Regions from separate parts of the Homo sapiens genome. Here all the other regions are linked to region 1. Evidence: promoter capture Hi-C in 16 types of primary human blood cells and fetal thymus (Javierre and others, 2016). All regions are on one chromosome and are shown on one strand. The core of a region is centred on a gene start or on the middle of the fragment in contact, and the rest is flanking DNA. Distances in the headings are between cores, read along the strand shown. Region 1 holds the start of MARCHF4 (membrane associated ring-CH-type finger 4). Region 2 overlaps XRCC5 (X-ray repair cross complementing 5). Region 3 overlaps XRCC5 (X-ray repair cross complementing 5). Region 4 overlaps XRCC5 (X-ray repair cross complementing 5). Region 5 has its middle 7.3 kb from the start of LINC01963.

Region 1 (3,825 bases), core at 463-2,962:
AGAGAAAACTAGCTCAATGAAGAATTGAGGACTGCATGTGTGAGAGAGAAAAGATCGTTTTTCTCAGGTGGTAGGGGTTGGGGGAGTCAAGGTAGGGGAGGAGAGAAGATTGGGAGAAGTTTTAATTCTCCTGGGCAGAAAACTGGGGCAATTAACCCCCAGAAGCACCAGAGTTGCTTTTAAGAGAGCAGTTGGGTGGGGGAGGGGTGTTGCAGGTGAAACTGGGCTAGGGGCTTGTGCTTTGCCTCCGCAGCCAAAGGGTTACACCGAAGAGGGGAAAGCCAATTAGGAGAAGGGAGGTAAAATAGAGGTTTGGGAAGGAAAAAGGATGGGAGAAAAAGAAAAGATCGTTTAACCCTTGCAGAGGCGCCTCCTTCCTGAGCATGAAGATCCTGGCTAGAGGAAGGGTGTGTGTACCGGGGTGAGAGGGCAGTGGAGCAGAGAATAGGGGTAGAGGAGAGGGGCGTGTGGGAGAGAACAGGAGAAAGGAGTGGTTACATTATCTCAGCCCCCAGCCCACCCCTGCTGCAGTCGGCAAATCCGTGGCGCCCTCCCCTCGGTTCCATCAAAGGTCCCTTCGGTCGAGGGGCAAGAGCCGAGAGAAGGGCAGGTCCGGGCGGGCGAGTGGCCTCGCCTTCTCCTCCTCTTCCTCCTCTGGGTCGCGGTCGCCCTCCTCCTCCGGCTCCGGGTCGGCCCGCGCCCGCAGCTGCTGCTGCGGCGGCGGAGGCGACTGCTGCTCGGCGTCCGGGTGTCTCCGGGGCGGGGGCTGCTCCGGCTCGTCCTCTGGCTGCTGCCCGCCGTCCGGCGCGGTCGCGACTCCGGCCTTCATGATCCTCCTCCTCCTCCCCCTTCCCTGGGGGCCAGCCCTGAGCCCCCGCGCCCGGGCAGCGCTGCCATGCAACCAGAGGCGAGGCCGGCGTGGGGGTGGGGGCGGCTGGGGAGTGAGGAGGGGGAGTAATAAAAAATGAAATAATACTAGTGGAATAATTCGGTTCTCAGGCAAGAGTGCTTCTGGAGGGTGGGGGCGGAGGAGGGCGGCTGCCGGGTCTGCTCGGCAGCTCTGCCCCCGCTACCCCCACCAAGGGCGGCCTCGGCCCGCTCTCTGCCCCCCCACCCCGCCCCTTCCTCCTCTCCACCGCCTCTGGCTGGCTAGGCTCGCTGTTGCTACCTCTCCTCGCAGATGCAACGAGGTAAGGCTTGTTTGCGGTGCCAGCTGAAGGTGGGGAGGGGGGAGCGAAGCAGTGTGGCCGAGGTGGGAGGCAGCCGGCACTTGGCTCCAGCTTGGTCCTCGCGACTCCCCAAAACCGTATATAAATATATCTCTTATAAAAGCCGAGAGGAAGCAAATCAGATTCCAGGCTGCTGCCAGGTGTTGTCTCGTCTTCCGCCGTTGCTCAGCACCCGCCGCTGCCCCCACTGGCTCGATTCCCAAAGGGGTGGTGCTGGAAGGGAGGTGGCGGGGCGGCGAGCTGACCGTCCGAGAACTGGAAACAAGGTTCTTGCAGCGAGGGAGGCTCTCGGCTATCTCCGCCGCCGGCGCCGCGGCCGCCGCTGCTGCATTCAGCACCCCGGGCGAGTGGACAGCTCCCACCCAGACCCCGCGCGTCACGCTCGTGGGGGCCTGACGCAGACGCCGCGGAGGGATGGAGGAGGGAAAGGGGATGAGAGGAAAAGAAGCTGGAGGGAGAGGGAGCAAGAGGAGGAGAGAACTGTGCGAGGGAAGGGGATGGGGAGGGACCAAGGGAAAGGGAGGTAACCAGGAGAGGGAGGGATTTAGGAAGGGAAGGAGGAGGGAGCGAAGTGAAGAGTAAAAGAAAGAAGGAGAAAGGCCACGGGGAGGGAGGGGAGCGATTCAGGCACTAACTCTTGCATTTCACCTCAGCAGGAACGTGTCGGTGTGGAAGGTCTGGTTGTAGACTCTCTGCCCACTGTCCACTATCACAGCTCCTCTCATTGCACATACAAGACACAGACACCTGTCAACCAGAGACCGTTTCTCTGTTCACATAAACATTTAAAGTAGATCTCAGTCTGCAAGCTTTCGAGGAGATAAAGTTTTGTGACTTCCACAATGAAGCTGGGACTTGATGGAGATTAAATTCCTCATGACTAAGGAAATGCTTGAGACATGAGACATGAGAAGGAAATGTTTCATTGAGGCTTGAGACATGAGAAGGAAATGCTTCAAATTTTCAAACAGGGAGGAGGTTGCTAGTACCATTTTTTTGTCAGCTTCTTCGCCTAGAATTTAAGCTCCAATTGACAGAGATAATTTTTTTAATTCATTTGATCCCGTGTGCCTAAGTCAGAGATGGCATCTAGTAAATGTTCAATGCATATTTGTTGAATGGCTTGTGGCCACCATCACCACAGTCATCATTACTATAAGTCACAGTGCTCTTTCAATTGTGAGTCATAAGAATCCAGAGCAATATTTCAGCTTCGTCTTCACCAACATCCCCAGCCTCCTCCCTATTCAAGCCTTTCACTGAGCCGCTGACAAGAGGTAATTTGAAATGGATTTTAATTTCCTCTCCTATTTCTGCTACTGACTCATGTCACCCTACCCTATTTTTCTCAAGGAGTTTCTTGAGCAGCAAAGTGCCCCTAAATGTGAAGAGCAAGAAAAAGAAGGAAACTTAAAGTGGTCTATATAAAACCTCAGTGTTTGCAGCTGTAGACTTTGGTCACTGAAAACTTAGGATTGCTTTTTTTGCCTTTCCTTATAAACCTCTCTCCCCCACCCCGCTCTCTCTCTCTCTCTCTCTCTCTCACACACACACACACACACACACACACACCCCTCTAGGGCCATAGAGAAGATATGCCAGTGATTCATCCAAACAGCCATGGTAATGCCTTTACAAATATTGGAGCCATAGACAGAGTAGCATGCAAAATTTCTGCAGCAAAATATCATTGGAACGAAGTTCAGTCCAATGAGTCATAAGAAAACTACCCCTTTGCTGCCATCTCTATGAAATGATTCATTCCTACAAGCTCTAAGGAGAAAGGACCTACATCTCAGTCTTGGTTAACCCAGCATGGCTACTTGTCTGAATCATGCCCCAGGACTCACCATGGATGCTGAGACCCAGCCCAAGGTGCTCATTTAAAGATGATACTAATATTTTTAATAACTACAAAATAATATTTATTGATTAATATCAGCACAAATACTGTGCAGCAACAAAAAACCTCTTTATTTCAAAAATTCTATTTGTTCTTCAAGAAAATATTTTGTGTTCCACATCACTCTGTATCTGTTTCTGGTATTGCAGAAATCATAGTCTATATAATAATTATCTCACCATACATTCATCTCCCTTTGTCTGACTCAGAGCTTCTTTAAGGCTGGGATCAGTATCTATATTTGTATCACCAGCACATAATGCAGCACCTGAAGTTAAGTAGGTGTTCAAGAAAATGGACTCTGAATAAATAAGTGGCTTTTTTATTTCAGTGAAGCTACCATATTTCTCCCCTTCAGCCTGGACACATACATGTGAGTGCTCCCACATATGACTGAATATCTGCTTTACCTAAAATTGAGTTTTAGGGTTTTGTGCTCATTAAATTCTAGCTCCAAGTGTGTTGTGCAAGTAAATTAGGGCAGGAGATAGAAATGCCATATGAGACCTATATCCAGAGTCATAGAAATGGATGATGTCCGGCCAGGCATGGTGGCTCATGCCTGTAATCCCAACACTTTGGGAGGCTGAGGCGGGTGGATCATCTGAGGTTGGGAGTTGAAGACCACCCTGACTAACATGGAGAAACCCCGTCTCTACTAAAAATACAAAATTAGCCAGGTGTGGTGGCACA
Region 2 (3,825 bases), core at 691-3,190, 230 kb before region 1:
TACTTTTTAGGAACTACTTACTCTTTTCCACCTTTTGCCTGGTGACTGTGAATGTTCCAGAAATAGTGCCTCAGGTTCAACAGCTGAACTGCTGTATGAATCAGTAAAATGAAAGTTACACACAGTAGTTTAGGCAGAAGTATTTTTGGGAGAATTGCCTTTCGTCCATATTGCTTTGGGCTGTACCATTTTTATTGACTGAGTAGATTTTTATTGAGGAGCACTTGTTTTTTATTAGTATTAGGAGAGACCTAAGGAAAGAGGATGTCGTATTTCTGCTCTCATGGAACTTGAGAGTTTGAATGGAGTAGGGCAAGACATGTACGCAGGTGTGAGTAGTGTCATGGAGGCATTAAGAGAGGAGAGAGCTTATTCAGCCTCAGTAGATTGTGAAGGAATCAGCTCACCCTGATCCAATGGTGTCTTCCTGTTAAGGTGCTGTACTCTGATAAAAGTTATATTAAAGTCATTAAAATGCTTATGCTTCATTACCAGAGAGGTTTTTTCTTTTTAATGTTTTTCTTCTTTAGCTAATTACTAGTTTTTAAAATATTAGCTCAATGGATACTAAATATTTTGTTCCAGTCTCCTTATAGGGATTGGTTTTTATATGGCTGTATTCCTCTGAAACAAACTTTCTTGCTTTTGATCTGATACTCCATTGTCAGAGGCTCACTGAATGGTAGAACTGGAACCTAATCAGTCAGTCACTCTAAATCGATCTTTTCATGGATAAGAAAACCAAGACTTGGGTTAAATACGTGCATAGCTAGAGAATACTTTGGCAGGGCCAGGACTGTATAACCTGCCAATATTGCCGTGGATATCTCTACGTAGAAAGCATTTGTTTTAGTGGAGAATAATGGAAATAATCATTTTTCTTTCGGCTTCTCTGTTTAAGAGGCACAGTTGAATGCTGTTGATGCTTTGATTGACTCCATGAGCTTGGCAAAGAAAGATGAGAAGACAGACACCCTTGAAGACTTGTTTCCAACCACCAAAATCCCAAATCCTCGATTTCAGAGATTATTTCAGGTAAGAGAAGAAGGATGAACAAGTCATATTTCTTTTAAATGAAAGAGAGCTAAGTGCAAAGTTGCGGTAATTGGCCAGTCCTAAATAAATGTCTTTTTTCTCTGAAGGCCCCATTTGCTCTATTTAATGGAAGAATAACATCTTCCTCTCCTACTTCAGAAGGTAAAAATATTCTGAGCTCTTAAAAAGAAAAATAAAGTTGGAATGCTTTCTTTCTTTTCTTTTTTTTTTTTTTTTTTTTTTTTTTCCTGGAAGAAGCTTACTTTAACAAAAAAAATACAGGAAGGCCAGTTGCCTATGCTGGAGTGCAGTGTTGTGATCATAGCTCACTATAGCCTCAAACTCCTGTGCTCAAGCACTCTTCCCGCCTCAGTCTCCTGAACAGCTGGGATTGCAGGCACATGCCACCATGCCTGGCTCATTTGTAAAAATTTTTGTGAAGACAAGTCTTGGCCACGTGCGGTGGTTCATGCCTGTAATCCCAGCACTTTGGGAGGCTGAGGCAGGTGCATCACTTGAGGTCAGGAGTTCAAGACCAGCCTGGCTAACATGGTGAAACCCTGTCTCTACCAAAAAATAAAAAAATTAGCCGGGCATGGTAGCACGTGCCTGTAATCCGAGCTTCTCAGGAGGCTGAAGTGGGAGAATTGCTTGAACCTGGGAGATGGAGAGTGGAGTTAGCCGAGATCACGACCCTGTACTCCAGCCTGGGCGGCAGAATGAGACCGAGTCTTTAAAAAAAAAGAAAAAAAAAGGTTCCTAGGCTGGTCTTTAACTCCTAGGCTCAAGCATTCTGAGTAGATGGGACTCCAGGTGTATACCATTGCCCCCAGCCAGATGCCTCTTTTATATTTTTTCAGGCTTTTCTCCTGTATTGTATGTAAATAACACTTTTCTTTGTTTTCTATATCAAAATAGTAGGAGAGCTTATATGAACTCTATAATAATATAACATTGTTAGAGAAGAAGTGTTCTAATGTCACATTTCTCAAAAATTTCATAATTAAAGGGAGCATAGGGGTCAGATAAAAAGGTTATATTGTGAAATTATTAAAGAATAATTAAAATACAGAAAATATAAAAAATCTTCTGAATCTGAGTCCAAAGGAATTGGAAGGCAGAGATTGGATTAAGGTAAATTGGGGAAGTTGACAAGAGAGCTGACTTATGCTGAGGAAGGGGAGGGCTAGACCAAGGTTGAAGGAGAAAGGAATATTCCAGTCCTGGATTCAGTTGATGACAGCAGGACATAGGCTTCTCTGACCCCCACAAAACTGAAAAAAAAATTATATAAGCAGCTTTTTAAGGCAAGCTGTTGCTCACAGAGGAGTAGAGGGCCCTTTTCTGCAGGTTGGGGGTAACAGGGCATGTGCTGCAGAGACCACAGATTCTCCCTTATGACTCACTTCATGAAACATCTGTAACTAACTTAAGTCCATATTGGGGCTTGTGATTTGAGGGATCCTCTACTTGAAAGAAACTGCCTGTTTTTTTGATGCTTGTAATTCTTTTAAGTAGTGAAAAAAATCTTTTGTTCTAAAATTAGAGATGTGAAGCTTAACATGTGAAGACTTGACTCTGAATACTCATGCCCCTCAGTTTATGATGGGGATACACGCCTATAAACCCATCTAAGTTGAGAATATAAGTTGAAAATGCATTTACTACACCTAACCTACCAATCATCATAGCTTAGCCTCACCTACTTTAAATGTGCTCAAAACACTTCACATTAGCCTACAGTTGGGCAGAATCATCTGACAATATCATGCACTGTAAAGGTTGTCTACCCTTGGGAGCTGCAGCTTGATATCACTGCCCAGCATTGTAAGTGTCCTACTGAGTTCTACTGAATGAGTATCGCTTTCACACTGTTGTAAAGTGGAAAAATTGTAAATTGAACCATCATAAACCAGGGACCATCTGTACTCTAGCATGCTAAGTGTAATGAAGTATAAATTACAGATATAAAAATCCTTTGGTGTTTTTTTGGCAAATGTACTTGAAGACCTAAAGCCTTGTGCCATTTGTAGGAAAGGTAGGAGCAGACCAGTTCAAAGCTTACCAAAATGGTTCACTGTGGAGAAAAAGAGAAACTTCTATTAATACTATTTTGCACACTTATCTACAGTAGGTTGTATTTATCTTTAATAAATGCTTATTGGAATAACAAACAGATACAAGCCATAAATGCAGGCATTTTTATATTCCAAAGCTGCTGCAAGCACGGGCTTTGATTTTTATTAGTTTGTTTTGTGGGGGAGAGTTTTTAATGTGGCTTATCTATATAAAGAAGTATCTTCACTAGGATACATAAACTTAAAAAAAACTTATTTATTGAGTACTAACAATGAACCACGTGCGAAAGATACTATAAGCTGCTTTTTTTTTTTTTATTTTTATTTTGAGACGGAGTCTCACTCTGTCACCCAGGCTGGAGTGCAGTGGCGTGATCTTGGCTCACTGTGAGCTCTGTCTCCTGGTTCACACCATTCTCCTGCCTCAGCCTCCCGAGTAGCTGGGACTACAGATGCCCGCCACCACGCCCGGCTAATTTTTTTTTTTTTTGTATTTTTAGTAGAGACGGGGTTTCGCTGTGTTAGCCAGGATAGTCTCGATCTCCTGACCTTGTGATCCGCCCGCCTCGGCCTCCCCAAAGTGCTGGGATTGCAGGCGTGAGCCACTGCACCCGGCCAAGCTTACTTCTTTTATGGACCCCTCTAGAAGAATGAGAAAAGTAGAGAGAGAAAAAACCAGTTGTTAAAACAGTGGTGGGAAAACACCATGAGA
Region 3 (3,825 bases), core at 566-3,065, 210 kb before region 1:
CATTTTTAAAATAACTTCATTTTCAAGCCTCATTGTCTGAAGGTTGAGGCTTTGAGCAAAAAAACAACACATTTAGAAATTCTAGTCCTGAAAATTGCTGAGAAATTTTAACTGTTCTCATAATAAAATAAGTAAATGAAATAATGCATATGATAATTAGCTTAATTTAGCTATTTCACAATAAATGCATATTTTAAAACATTTTGTACATGATAATATATACAATTTTTATGTTAAAATAAATGAATTTTTAAAATTTCTAGATCTTGGTTACTAATTCTCTTATCATTTAGCCATTTCTGATGGCTGCTTTTGCCCTAGATTGCATTTCTCTCTGGGAGAAAAAAATCTTAATTTCTTTATGTTCAGCAGCTTAAGGGAGATTACAGGCAGAGTCTTTGGATTTGATTTTCTTCTCTTTTGCAATTAACTTGACCTCCTCTTGACTTTAAGACAGGCTGTTAAAGCCAGCATGTTGCTTGAGGCAAGATGTTTGATATACTTTTCCTTAGCACACAGATGCTACTGGACTGTTAGCATATTGCACAAAACAGAATTAGGTTTATAAAAGAACAAATTAAAAAGTTTTCGGGGAAGTTTTTTTTTTATAGTTTACGACTTCTTTAAGAGGGAAAGCTCTTGCATAGTTAATTAAGGATTGTCTAGTAAGTTTTGACAGTTGTAAACAGAGGCTTATAAAGCTCTAACATACATGATAGAGAAAACGGGTTGTTAGACACAAAGGTCTTCTGTGTACATGGAAAGCTAATAGCTGTCAATTCTGAGACAGGAACTAGAAAATAATATCTGAAGAGTAAATGGATTTCTTACTTAAATGTTAAATTTCCATTATCTGTGCTTGCAGTTTCATCTTTTCCAAGGACCTTATGATGTGATTGCTTAATTCTGATTCTCATACTGCTGTGAAACAAAGCCAGGGCTGCCTCAAGTTAGGCCCTTAGGAGCCCGGTGGCTAGGAAAGGGAGGCAGCTTGTTTGTAGAAGGACTACATGTAGCTATTGTTTTTCTTTTCTTTTTCTTCTTCATTATTTTTCTTTTCTTCTTCTTCTTTTTTCTTTTTTTTTTTTGGTGCTTGGAAAATAAGTTTCACAATAGCAATCTGGTTTTGTATTGTTTGTTCTAAGAGAAATTTTTTTTTTCTTTTCTAGCCATGAAGATGGACCTACAGCTAAAAAATTAAAGACTGAGCAAGGGGGAGCCCACTTCAGCGTCTCCAGTCTGGCTGAAGGCAGTGTCACCTCTGTAAGCTAAGCTTTTCAAGTGCGCTTCCCCCTTTGCAGGAAGGTTGGGGCTTGAGGGAGAGTGCATCAATTTTTGTTAGTCCGTTCTTACCACTTTCAAGTTAAGATCATGATCACTTTCTCTGGTCCTTGCTCTATAGAAGCCAAAAAGACCCATTCCATACTTCTTTAAGTAATTATTATCATGAATTGCCTACAGAATTATCTATATGATATAAGGTATATAGAGCTCTTTATAGAACGTGGAACATCTCAGTGTTGAGATTTTGCTGTTGGCATTATTTTGCAGCTTTTCAACTAGTCAAAATGATAGGATAAGTGGGGGTTAGTGATACGAGCCTTAATCTTCAAGTACACACAATTTAAGTTAGTATAACTTTCCTATTTTCTAACATGCAACTTTAGAACAGGATTCACAAGTTTAGGATTTCCCCAAGAATGTATCCTTTGATACATGAGATTTTTATTGAATGAGAAATTTTTTGGAACTTGAAAATACTACCTTAATTAATTAATTAATTAATTAATTAATTTTTATATCTTGGTCAGCCAGGAGGAAGAATATTTTATTTAATTTTAGAGATAGGTTGTCACTGTCACCCACGCCGGAGTACAGTAGTGTGATTTTAGCTCACTGCAGCCTTGAAATCCTGAGCTCAAGTGGTCCTCCTGCCTCAGCCTCCTGTGTAGCTAGGACTAAGGGTACATGCCACCATACCCGGCTATTTTTCATAGAGGTGGGGTCTCAGTATGTTACTCCTGGGCTCAAGCAATCCTCCCGCTTCAGCCTCCCGAAGCACTGGGATTATAGTCATGAGTCACTGCACCCAGCCAAATAGTGCCTTGTTCTAAGCAGCATTAGTGTGAATCAACAAATCTTAAAAATTGGCCGATAACTTTTTAACACAATGTACTAGGAAGGATAGTCAGGGAATAAAGGGCATGCCTTTATTCTCACCTCAAACAGAAACTCAGAAAAATTGAATGTGTGAAAAATGATTTAGATTTCATTTAGATGTTTTATATATAATAGTAAAGGAAAAAGTCATGATCTTGTTCTGAGAGCTTTTCTGCTTCCTATATCCAAGCAAACTGGAAGCTTTAGTATATTTTGGAACCCCATTGTTTTCTTTCTTATGAGCTGAGTGGTTCTTAGGCCCTGTGAGGGTTGGGGCCAGCAGATTAAAAACATAGGTATAATCAGAAAGTTCCATATAATATGGCAGTTTCGTCTTTCAAACTTCCTCACCCAGCACTGCAGTACATCTTTGTACATAATCTGCTTTTACTTTCTGAGGACATGTTCAACCTGGGTATGCTTTGTATATTCTACCAAAACTTCAGTGCCAAAGGGTCAGCAGCAGTCCCACTAATGGGCACTTCGGTGAATCAGGCATTAAGCTGTATTTCTCATGTTATCTTAGTGGGGCAAATCTATTCGAAACCGACCCCACACTGCAGAATCCTCGGCTTTCTAATTGGTTGGGTGACAGGATATACAGGCAGTCTGTGCTACACAAAGCCTTCCAGCTGGGCTGGCTGGTGGCTTGAGTTGTAATACTTTTTTGACCCTTCTGGAAAGAAATCAGCTTTCATAAAGCAAGGTGAGTGAAAGCACAGAGGGCAGCTCTTGGACCACTGAAATCTGCCGGCCTTTCACAGAGCCCTAGAAATGAAAATGAATAGAAAAGCCCTTCTCTTTGTCTTTGGTTTTATTTTATAAGAGCACACTTATTACATTAAGCCATCTTGTATTGCCTGGGGTGCTGCTAAAAAGAGAAATAACCTGTAGGTTTATCATCTGTTGGTATATTTTAGGTTGGAAGTGTGAATCCTGCTGAAAACTTCCGTGTTCTAGTGAAACAGAAGAAGGCCAGCTTTGAGGAAGGTGAGTGGTTGACTTTGCATTTAGGAGAAGCTGTTTAGTTAAGCTAACTAATTTAAAGTCTAGATTAAGAACTGTAGCCTTTTGTTGTAACACTTTAGCATTTTTCTTTACTGGCGGATCTTTGTGGTTTTCCCTTGTTAGGGAGCTCACTGAGGCAACATTATGAGCACATGAAAGTGAACTCAGCACAGATTTTCTCAAAAGGAACTAATTTGTAGGTCTCCCTACAGAAAAACTTTGGGCCAACACCTTGGCGCTTATAGCTCCACTTCATTGAAGTTTTTTAGGATTTTGTCGTGAGCTATAAATAAAACACTTTTATGTCACATCTTCCTATTTTATTTTCTTCCTTTTTTTTCTTTTTTTTTTTGAGATGGAGTTTCTCTCTTGTTGCCCAGGCTGGAGTGCAATGGCATGATTTCAGCACACCACAACCTCTGCCTCCCGAGTTGAAGCGATTCTCCTACCTCAGCCTCCCGAGTAGCTGGGATTACAGGCGTGCACCACCATGCCCAGCTAATTTTGTTTAGACGGGGTTTCTCCATGTTGGTCAGGCTGGTCTTGAACTCCTGACCTCAGGTGATCTGCCAGCCTCAGCCTCCCAAAGTGCTGGGATAACAGGTGTGAGCCATCGTGCCCGGCCACATCTTCCTATTTTCAGAGACACATAATTCT
Region 4 (3,825 bases), core at 910-3,409, 170 kb before region 1:
TAATTATCCAGGGATGTTCATTTTAAATGAAAATTATAACTTTACATTTGTATAACATCTTAAGAGCTATTACCCTCCAGTTTTTCTAGAAATATGTGGATTGTATGATTCTTTGAGAAATAGAAGGAAGTCAGCTCTGCTACAGAAATAGAAAGTTTTTGCATGGCGTGAGTTTAGACAGTCACTTTCTTTTAAGTTTCCTGGTACCTCTCATTTCATTTTGAAACCTAGGCATAAATCATTCTTTAATGTTCATTTTTATTATCATTATAACCTGTCAGTTCTTCCACTTTTTCTGTTTCTAGTTTATATGATTAGATATGCCATTAGCATTTGATGTTTGGTAGAATCTTTGTATAGCCTTTGTGTGCTCTTCATCTGTCAGTTCTCCTGGCTCTGTAGTGGGTGGAAGAGGTAAAGTGATGTGTCTGAGAGCTCACAGTAAGTCACCGGCCAGGAATCTAGTTCTAGCACTGCCCTAGTCCTTCATTCTCCTTTAGTATTGAGAAAGCAGTGAAGAAAGAGGATTTATCCCCATGGCATTGGGATCTTTTTTTTTTTTTTTTTTTTTTTTACCAGATTCCAAGAGGCTGAGCTATATCTAAATAATCATTTGATGTAAGCTCTGTGAAAAAAAAATCATTATTTTAGCACTTATTTTTCTTGTAACTGCCTAATTTATCCTTCTTTATTGTTGTTGACATTTATGGATTTTCCACCTTAGTATCACAGACATTCATAGATAGCAATTGGCCATTTTACCAATTGGTGTTGGCCATTTTACCAACACCCCTGTCTAGAGAGGTAAAGTTTTCTGTGCCTCACAGCAAGCTAGTGGCCAGCAGAATTGACTGGAATCCAGACCCCCAGATGCCCGCTGTAGTCGCCTTATCACCACACCATGGCACCAGCTCTTCACGCCTTCACCTTATAATGCCGCCAACCACATCTACCTAGAGAAAGGATGCTCATGCTCCCTTTTTCAAGAGTACATCTGGTTCTGTGTGTGAGAGTGCACAGGAATTCTCCAAAGCTTAGTGAAGGATTGAAGACAAAGGTTAAGAATCATTTCTTGAGAGCAGTTTTGTCAAACTGCTGGCCCCTGTTGGAACCTGTGACATTTTTCTTTGCTTTTTTCTGCTTTCATTTTCTGCCTTAATTCTCTGGTGTAGTTTGCTAGTACAAGAAAAGTAATAATGAAAATATCACAGTGTTACCCAATATTTATTTAAGGCTTGATACATTTAAGATATGATATTAAATTTTTTATTGAGGTAGAACATGTGTACAGTAAATGCACAGATCTTAACTGTGCAACTTGATGAATTCTTACACATTCATGTACCTGGGTGCTCACCACCCAGATCAAAATAATAGAACATTTCCATCACCACATAAGCCTCCCTGGTACCTTCCTAGTCAGAAGCCCCCATCCCTTGAGGTAACCACTATTCTGACTTCTGTCACTTGAGAGTCATCTGGCCTGTTTTTGACCTTCATATAATTGGAATCATGCCTTTTTTTCATCAATTATGTGATTATAGCTATGTAGTAATCCCTTTTATGATTTTACCACAATTTATTCATCCATTCTCCTAATGATGGACATTTGCTTGTTTGTCCTTTGGCAGTTATGAATAAAGATGCTGTGGATATTCTTGTACATACCACTTGGTGGACATATGTTAAGTGTATTCCTAGGAATTAGAACATGAAACTTACAATACCATAATGAATTTTTTCATACTTTAGTTTATCTGAGACTCAACAACCCCTAAGATAGGTATGGTAAGTAGTAGTATTCACATTTTGTTTTTGAGCGAAATTAGTTATGAAAAGGTCAGGTGGCTTGCGTAAGGTTCCTGAGAAACTGACAGGGTTATAGTTGTGTTCTCCACACTAGGCTGCAGGATTTCCCTCTTGCACCATGTTAGTGTTTATAGCATCCATTAAGCTACAAGTGGCATTAATGAAACCCAAATATATGTCATTTTAGGCAAAGTACATGCAAACTGACTTTTATTCTTTTTGATGCTTTTTTACACATCTAGATTGTCAGTAATCCTTTGGAATCACCTGATGGTGTTGGAAACAACCCAGTGGAAGTCATGTGTTTTTACTTTGGGGGTCAGTAAGGGTCTGAGCACAAGATGATAGTCTTTTAGTCTTATGGTGGTATAGGACTGGCAGTTTCTATATAGAGGTTATTGATTTCATTACTCTGCTTGTGGCCAGGATTATATTTCAGTGTACTTGAAAAGTAGTAGGTTATCCATTTCATAAAGTTCTCCAGGTAAGGAGGCACTTTTATGGTAACCCCAGGTAAGTGATGGTGGTTTGAGGAAGAAGGAATATGTCACTCACACACATGCCCTTTCTATCTGTTCTCTACTTTCTCAGCATATTGCAGAGGGAAAGAACACATGAGAAAAGATGAGAATTGACTCCTACCCCTTTCTGCAGAAGAGATTCGGAGAATCTCTTGCTTTTATTGAGAAAGCAGGCCAGTCATTGAGTTCTCTGCTCTATCTTGCTTCCCTGTCACTGCATGGGCTAGAATTACTTGCAGTTACAAACATTAATGATGAGGAGTGATATGTGGAAGAGATCAGCCTTGCCTGGGGCATTGGGAAGGATAATGGATGGCAGCCCAGCTTTTAAACATAATTTGCTTACACAGAAATGTGAAGCAGATCTGTCAGGAAAATCAGTTGCAGACGATACTTAGCACTTAATGAAAATGTAGGATTTTTGTTGCTGCTCATTTCTTCCTAGGAATTTGGCCTAGTCTCAGAGATGTGCCATTTGTGCTTAAGTATATATACCATGGTCATACTGTGCCAACAATAAGTCCTTATCTAAGGGGTCATACAAGATGTAGTGGACTACAGAACCATTAAGCCTATGGAGTTTTTCAGATGTTTGGAAGATACCAGTCATTTGTGGCCCTACAGAGATTTATGGCAGGATGCAGCTCTACTGTTTATTCTCTTGCCCCAACTGGATAAGTCTTATCCTGTAGCCATATAGTCCTGATATCACGAAAATCATGCAGGGGTTAATGACAATGAGTAGGAGAGGAGAGGTACAACATAAAAAGTATGATAATAACCCGGAAAACCCCAAATAAAAACCCATTTGAGAATCTAGGATAGAGTAGTTTATTTAACCTTTACAGATAAATCATATGCTAGTAAATGTATAGATTTTTTATTCATTTATCTGTATTTGGCTGTCAGATATCTTTATTCATAATCACCCAGAATAAACAGAATGAATGAAACAGAAGCTTCATCACAATTCTGTTACAGACTGTCTGCCTCCATTGCTGGGATTTCCTCTCTCTTATACCATTGATTCTCAGTCTTGCACATGGCCCAGTTTAGGGTCAACAAAGAGCTATGGAAAGATCCATAAATGTCCTTAAAAGAAGATAAATTCCTTATTCGCTCAGTCATAAAAGAAGTTAATGAATAGTGAGGTGGTCTTAACTGAGGGAAAAAAAGTCCAAGAGAGTGGTTGAGTCAACAAACAATTATGTCCATGGTGCTGACAAAGGCACTGCACCTTAAGGCAGACACAGCCTCCACTGTTATCACTTTGTTACCTGTGTGTGTTTTTGTATATGAGGACTAGAAGAACAGGCAGAGCTTTCTTGCTTCCTGAAACTTGCCACATGCAGCCTCATATTTCATGGTTGACTTTGGTTTGACTTTTTAAAGAGACATATTTTAGTTTATTTATAGGTCTTAGGTTTCAGAGGTCATGATTGTGTCCATTGTACCATAAAAGTAACAGGAATGTAGAGAATGGCAGCTCTTACCA
Region 5 (3,825 bases), core at 812-3,311, 150 kb before region 1:
GGGGTAATATTGGGGATACAGAAAAAGAGGACTGGCTAACATGATAGTACAAAAGGTCATTTCTAGGAGGTCCCAAAGACTGCAAAGCTCCCTTCACTCATTGTTCTAAAAATGCACCTATCTCATTCCCATAGCTCAAGGCTGTGATCCTTGTTAAAATGGAGATGCTCCTTGGCCACGTTTGGGGGCTAATGCCTGTAATCCCAGCACTTTGGGAGGCCAAGGCAGGCAGATTGCTTGAGCCCAGAAGTTTGAGACCAGCCTTGGCAACACAGCAAAACCCATCTCTACAAAAAATAGAAAAATTAACCAGGCATGTGGGGTGTGCACCTGTAGTCCCAGCTACTCAGGAGGCTGAGGTGGGAGCATCATCACTTGAGCCCTGGAGGTCAAGGCTGCTATGAGCTGAGATTGCACCACTGCACTCCAGCCTGGTCAACAGGGGGAGATGCTGTCTTAGAAAAGGAGAAGATGCGATGCTCCTAATAAGAGTAATAGTTTAACTGTAATCAGCTATTTATATCTTGGGGTGAATGATGGATCCGGATTAAGTTTTGTTTCAAGAGTAGTAGAAGAGCATGGGGACTGAGACAGTCAGAAGAGGTGATATAGAAACAGACACAGAATTTGTTTGACCAAAGGCAAACCTGACAGCTTTTCTGGGTTGTGAGGGCACAGTAAAGTACCTAATCATTTCCTGTGACTTCATTCCAGTGAGACATCCACGTTGGAACTCACTGTGATGTGCCAGGAGCTGTGGGCTGCACAAAAAAGAAGTGTGGTGCCTCTCCTGTGTGTTTCCAGAGGTGGCAGGGTTTATTCCCAGAGTCTGAGTCCTTCTTTCCCCTCTGTGTTCTCACTACAGAGATAAGCAAACCATGATCATAGCCAGTTGGGGACCAAAACCACAACCTTATTTATGGCCAGGAAATCCCCTAGCTTTTCCCCAAATGCAGGGCTTCTGGTTCTATGGGCTGAAGATCTCTGCTTGGGCCTGAGGCCTTACCTAGCAGCTTTGCAGCTCATTAGCAGAACACAGAGAGTGATGGGAACATCGCTATATTAAGACTGTGATGGTTAATTATATATCCATAATTATTGACTGGGTTAAGTGATGTCCGGATAGCTATAAAACCTTCTCAGAGTAACTGTGAGGGTGTGTCTGGAAGAGATGAGCATTTGTATCAGTAGTAATGAAGATTTACCCTCACCCATGTGGGTGGCCATCATCCAATCTGTTGAGAGCCTGGACAGAACAAAAGGCAGAGGAAGGGTGAATTTGTTCTCCCTCTTGGAGCTGAGGCATCCATCTTCTGCCCTCAGACATTGGCACTCCTGGTTCTCAGGCTTTCAGATAATTACACCACTGGCTTTCCTGGTTCTCCAACTTGCAGATAGCATATCATGGGTCTTCTCAGCCTCCATAATCATGTGAGCCAGTTCCTATTTTATATATATATATATCCTATTTCTGGGGAAACCTGACAAATACAAGGATGTAAAATGATGAGTTTGCTGTGCTTGAGCACAAGAGTCAAGAAAACAGAGTGAAACCCTCTTTTGAATCCCAATACTCCCCACTCCTGGGAGGAGTAGAAAGCCCTAAGAGGATGATCCTCCTGCTCCACTTAGAGGATTTGAGGATCCGATTCCCACCAATCTGTCTCTGCTTCATTAGGGTGGGCTTGCCTGGGGAAGAGACTGCAAGAAATATAAAGGAGAGTAAGGAGGCCAGGTATGGTGGTGATTTGGGCTCTTCTTCGGTTCCATATTAATTTTAGAAATGGTTTTTCTATTTCTGTGAAAAATGGCATCCCTATAATCCCAGCACTTTGGGAAGCCAAGGTAGGCGGATTGCTTGAGCCCAGGAGTTGGAGACCAGCCTGGACAACATGGCGAAATCCTGTCTCTACGATAATAATAATAATACGAAAATGAGCTGCACAATGGTGGTGCACAGTTGTAGTCCCAACTACCCAGGAGGCTGAGATGGGAGGATTGATTGAGCCCAGGAGGTCGAGACTGCAGTGAGCTGTGACCGTTCCACTGCACTCCAGCCTGGGCAACAGAGTGAGGCTCTGTCTTAAAAACAAACAAGCAAACAAAAAAAGGAGAGTAAGGCAATGAGACTGAGACTGACTCACATAGACCTTGCTCTCTGGCATTGGTCATTCTAGAATCCAACAGAAATAATGGCCTGGATGATGCTCCAATTAATTGCTTTCTGACCCTGAGATGGCACCCCCATCGCCAGTCAAAGTTTTAATTAATCATGCCAGCAGATGGGCTGTCATGGGCCCCAGCAGCCTGATAATGAACTCATTTATTATCAGCTCTGTCAGTGGGAGGTTGTCCAGGCTTCTGGGAAAAGAAGAGACTCCTGATGCCAGAGCCCAGGATATGTGCAGTTTGGGAAAATCTCTGGAAATACCTTGACTTTATACCTTTCATTGGTCCTTAAGAAAGGAGGGAAGGTGTGGAAAAAGATTGTGGCTCAGGCTGGAAGAAGAGGTCTTGATATCACAGTTTCTTAGATGGTGCTAGAGATAGCCTGGCTCTCTGGTACCCCTGGCACCCACCTGACTCATGAAGTTAGGGTAACACATGGCATGTATTCTTTTTTTTTTTTTTGAGATGGAGTCTCGCTCTGTCCCCCAGGCTGGAGTGTAATGGCACAGTCTCGGCTCACAGCAACATCCGCCTCCTGGGTTCAAGCAATTCTCTGCCCTAGCCTCCTGAGTAGCTGGGATTACAGGTGCTCGCCACCACACCCGGCTAGTTTTTTTGTATTTTTAGTAGAGATGGGGTTTCACCGCCTTGGCCAGGATGGTCTCGAACTCCTGACCTCGTGATCCACCCACCTAGGCCTCCCAAAGTGCTAGGATTACAAGTGTGAGCCACCGCGCCCAGCCCATGCCATGTGTTCTTTTTTTTTTTTTTTTTTTTTTTTTTTTATTTTTTATTTTTATTGATCATTCTTGGGTGTTTCTCGCAGAGGGGGATTTGGCAGGGTCATAGGACAATAGTGGAGGGAAGGTCAGCAGATAAACAAGTGAACAAAGGTCTCCGGTTTTCCTAGGCAGAGGACCCTGCGGCCTTCCACAGTGTTTGTGTCCCTGGGTACTTAAAGATTAGGGAGTGGTGATGACTCTTAACGAGCATGCTGCCTTCAAGCATCTGTTTAACAAAGCACATCTTGCACCGCCCTTAATCCATTTAACCCTGAGTGGACACAGCACATGTTTCAGAGAGCACAGGGTTGGGGATAAGGTCACAGATCAACAGGATCCCAAGGCAGAAGAATTTTTCCTAGTACAGAACAAAATGAAAAGTCTCCCATGTCTACTTCCATCCACACAGACCCGGTAACCATCCGATTTCTCAATTCTTTCCCCACCCTTCCCGCCTTTCTATTCCACAAAACCGCCATTGTCATCATGGCCCATCACCAATGAGCCGCTGGGCACACCTCCCAGACGGGGTCGTGGCCGGGCAGAGGGGCTCCTCACTTCCCAGTAGGGGCGGCCGGGCAGAGGCGCCCCTCACCTCCTGGATAGGGCGGCTGGCCGGGCGGGGGGCTGTCCCCCCCACCTCCCTCCCGGACGGGGCGGCTGGCCGGGCAGAGGGGTCCTCACTTCCCAGTAGGGGCGGCCGGGCAGAGGCGCCCCTCACCTCCCGGACGGGGCGGCCGGCCGGAAGGGGGGCTGACCCCCCCACCTCCCTCCCGGACGGGGCGGCTGGCCGGGCAGAGGGGTCCTCACTTCCCAGTAGGGGCGGCCGGGCAGAGGCGCCCCTCACCTCCCGGACGGGGCGGCTGGCCAGGAA

What was found. The method cuts DNA at HindIII sites, captures the fragments that hold promoters and counts their contacts. A CHiCAGO score of 5 or more calls a contact.
Region 2: a fragment that was not itself captured here is called in contact with the fragment with the promoter of MARCHF4 in region 1 in 2 of 17 cell types (endothelial precursors and activated CD4 T cells); the score reaches 7.3 in endothelial precursors.
Region 3: a contact is called between a fragment that was not itself captured here and the fragment with the promoter of MARCHF4 in region 1, in 2 of 17 cell types (endothelial precursors and activated CD4 T cells). The highest score is 5.9, in endothelial precursors.
Region 4: a contact is called between a fragment that was not itself captured here and the fragment with the promoter of MARCHF4 in region 1, in 4 of 17 cell types (endothelial precursors, activated CD4 T cells, total CD8 T cells and 1 more). The highest score is 8.3, in endothelial precursors.
Region 5: a fragment that was not itself captured here is called in contact with the fragment with the promoter of MARCHF4 in region 1 in 4 of 17 cell types (activated CD4 T cells, endothelial precursors, megakaryocytes and 1 more); the score reaches 7.1 in activated CD4 T cells.

What each region holds. Positions count from the first base shown.
Region 1 is chr2:216,370,771-216,374,595 of GRCh38, forward strand. MARCHF4 (membrane associated ring-CH-type finger 4) reads right to left here and starts at 1,713. Exons shown (of 4, transcript NM_020814.3): 1 at 1-1,713. The HindIII fragment of the contact is 3,541 bases long and covers 1-2,036 here.
Region 2 is chr2:216,140,285-216,144,109 of GRCh38, forward strand. It overlaps XRCC5 (X-ray repair cross complementing 5), which reads left to right. Exons shown (of 21, transcript NM_021141.4): 13 at 902-1,035. Among named protein-coding and RNA genes, the nearest start is that of XRCC5, 33 kb to the left of the region's middle. RefSeq lists enhancers at 2,155-2,274, 2,445-2,554. The HindIII fragment of the contact is 1,298 bases long and covers 1,292-2,589 here.
Region 3 is chr2:216,158,899-216,162,723 of GRCh38, forward strand. XRCC5 (X-ray repair cross complementing 5) reads left to right here. Exons shown (of 21, transcript NM_021141.4): 15 at 1,170-1,263; 16 at 3,081-3,150. Among named protein-coding and RNA genes, the nearest start is that of XRCC5, 51 kb to the left of the region's middle. The HindIII fragment of the contact is 1,088 bases long and covers 1,272-2,359 here.
Region 4 is chr2:216,199,261-216,203,085 of GRCh38, forward strand. All of the region lies in intron 19 of XRCC5 (X-ray repair cross complementing 5), which reads left to right. Among named protein-coding and RNA genes, the nearest start is that of LINC01963, 16 kb to the right of the region's middle. The HindIII fragment of the contact is 2,256 bases long and covers 1,032-3,287 here.
Region 5 is chr2:216,222,293-216,226,117 of GRCh38, forward strand. No RefSeq gene overlaps it. Among named protein-coding and RNA genes, the nearest start is that of LINC01963, 7.3 kb to the left of the region's middle. RefSeq lists an enhancer at 820-1,029. The HindIII fragment of the contact is 7,342 bases long and covers 1-3,825 here.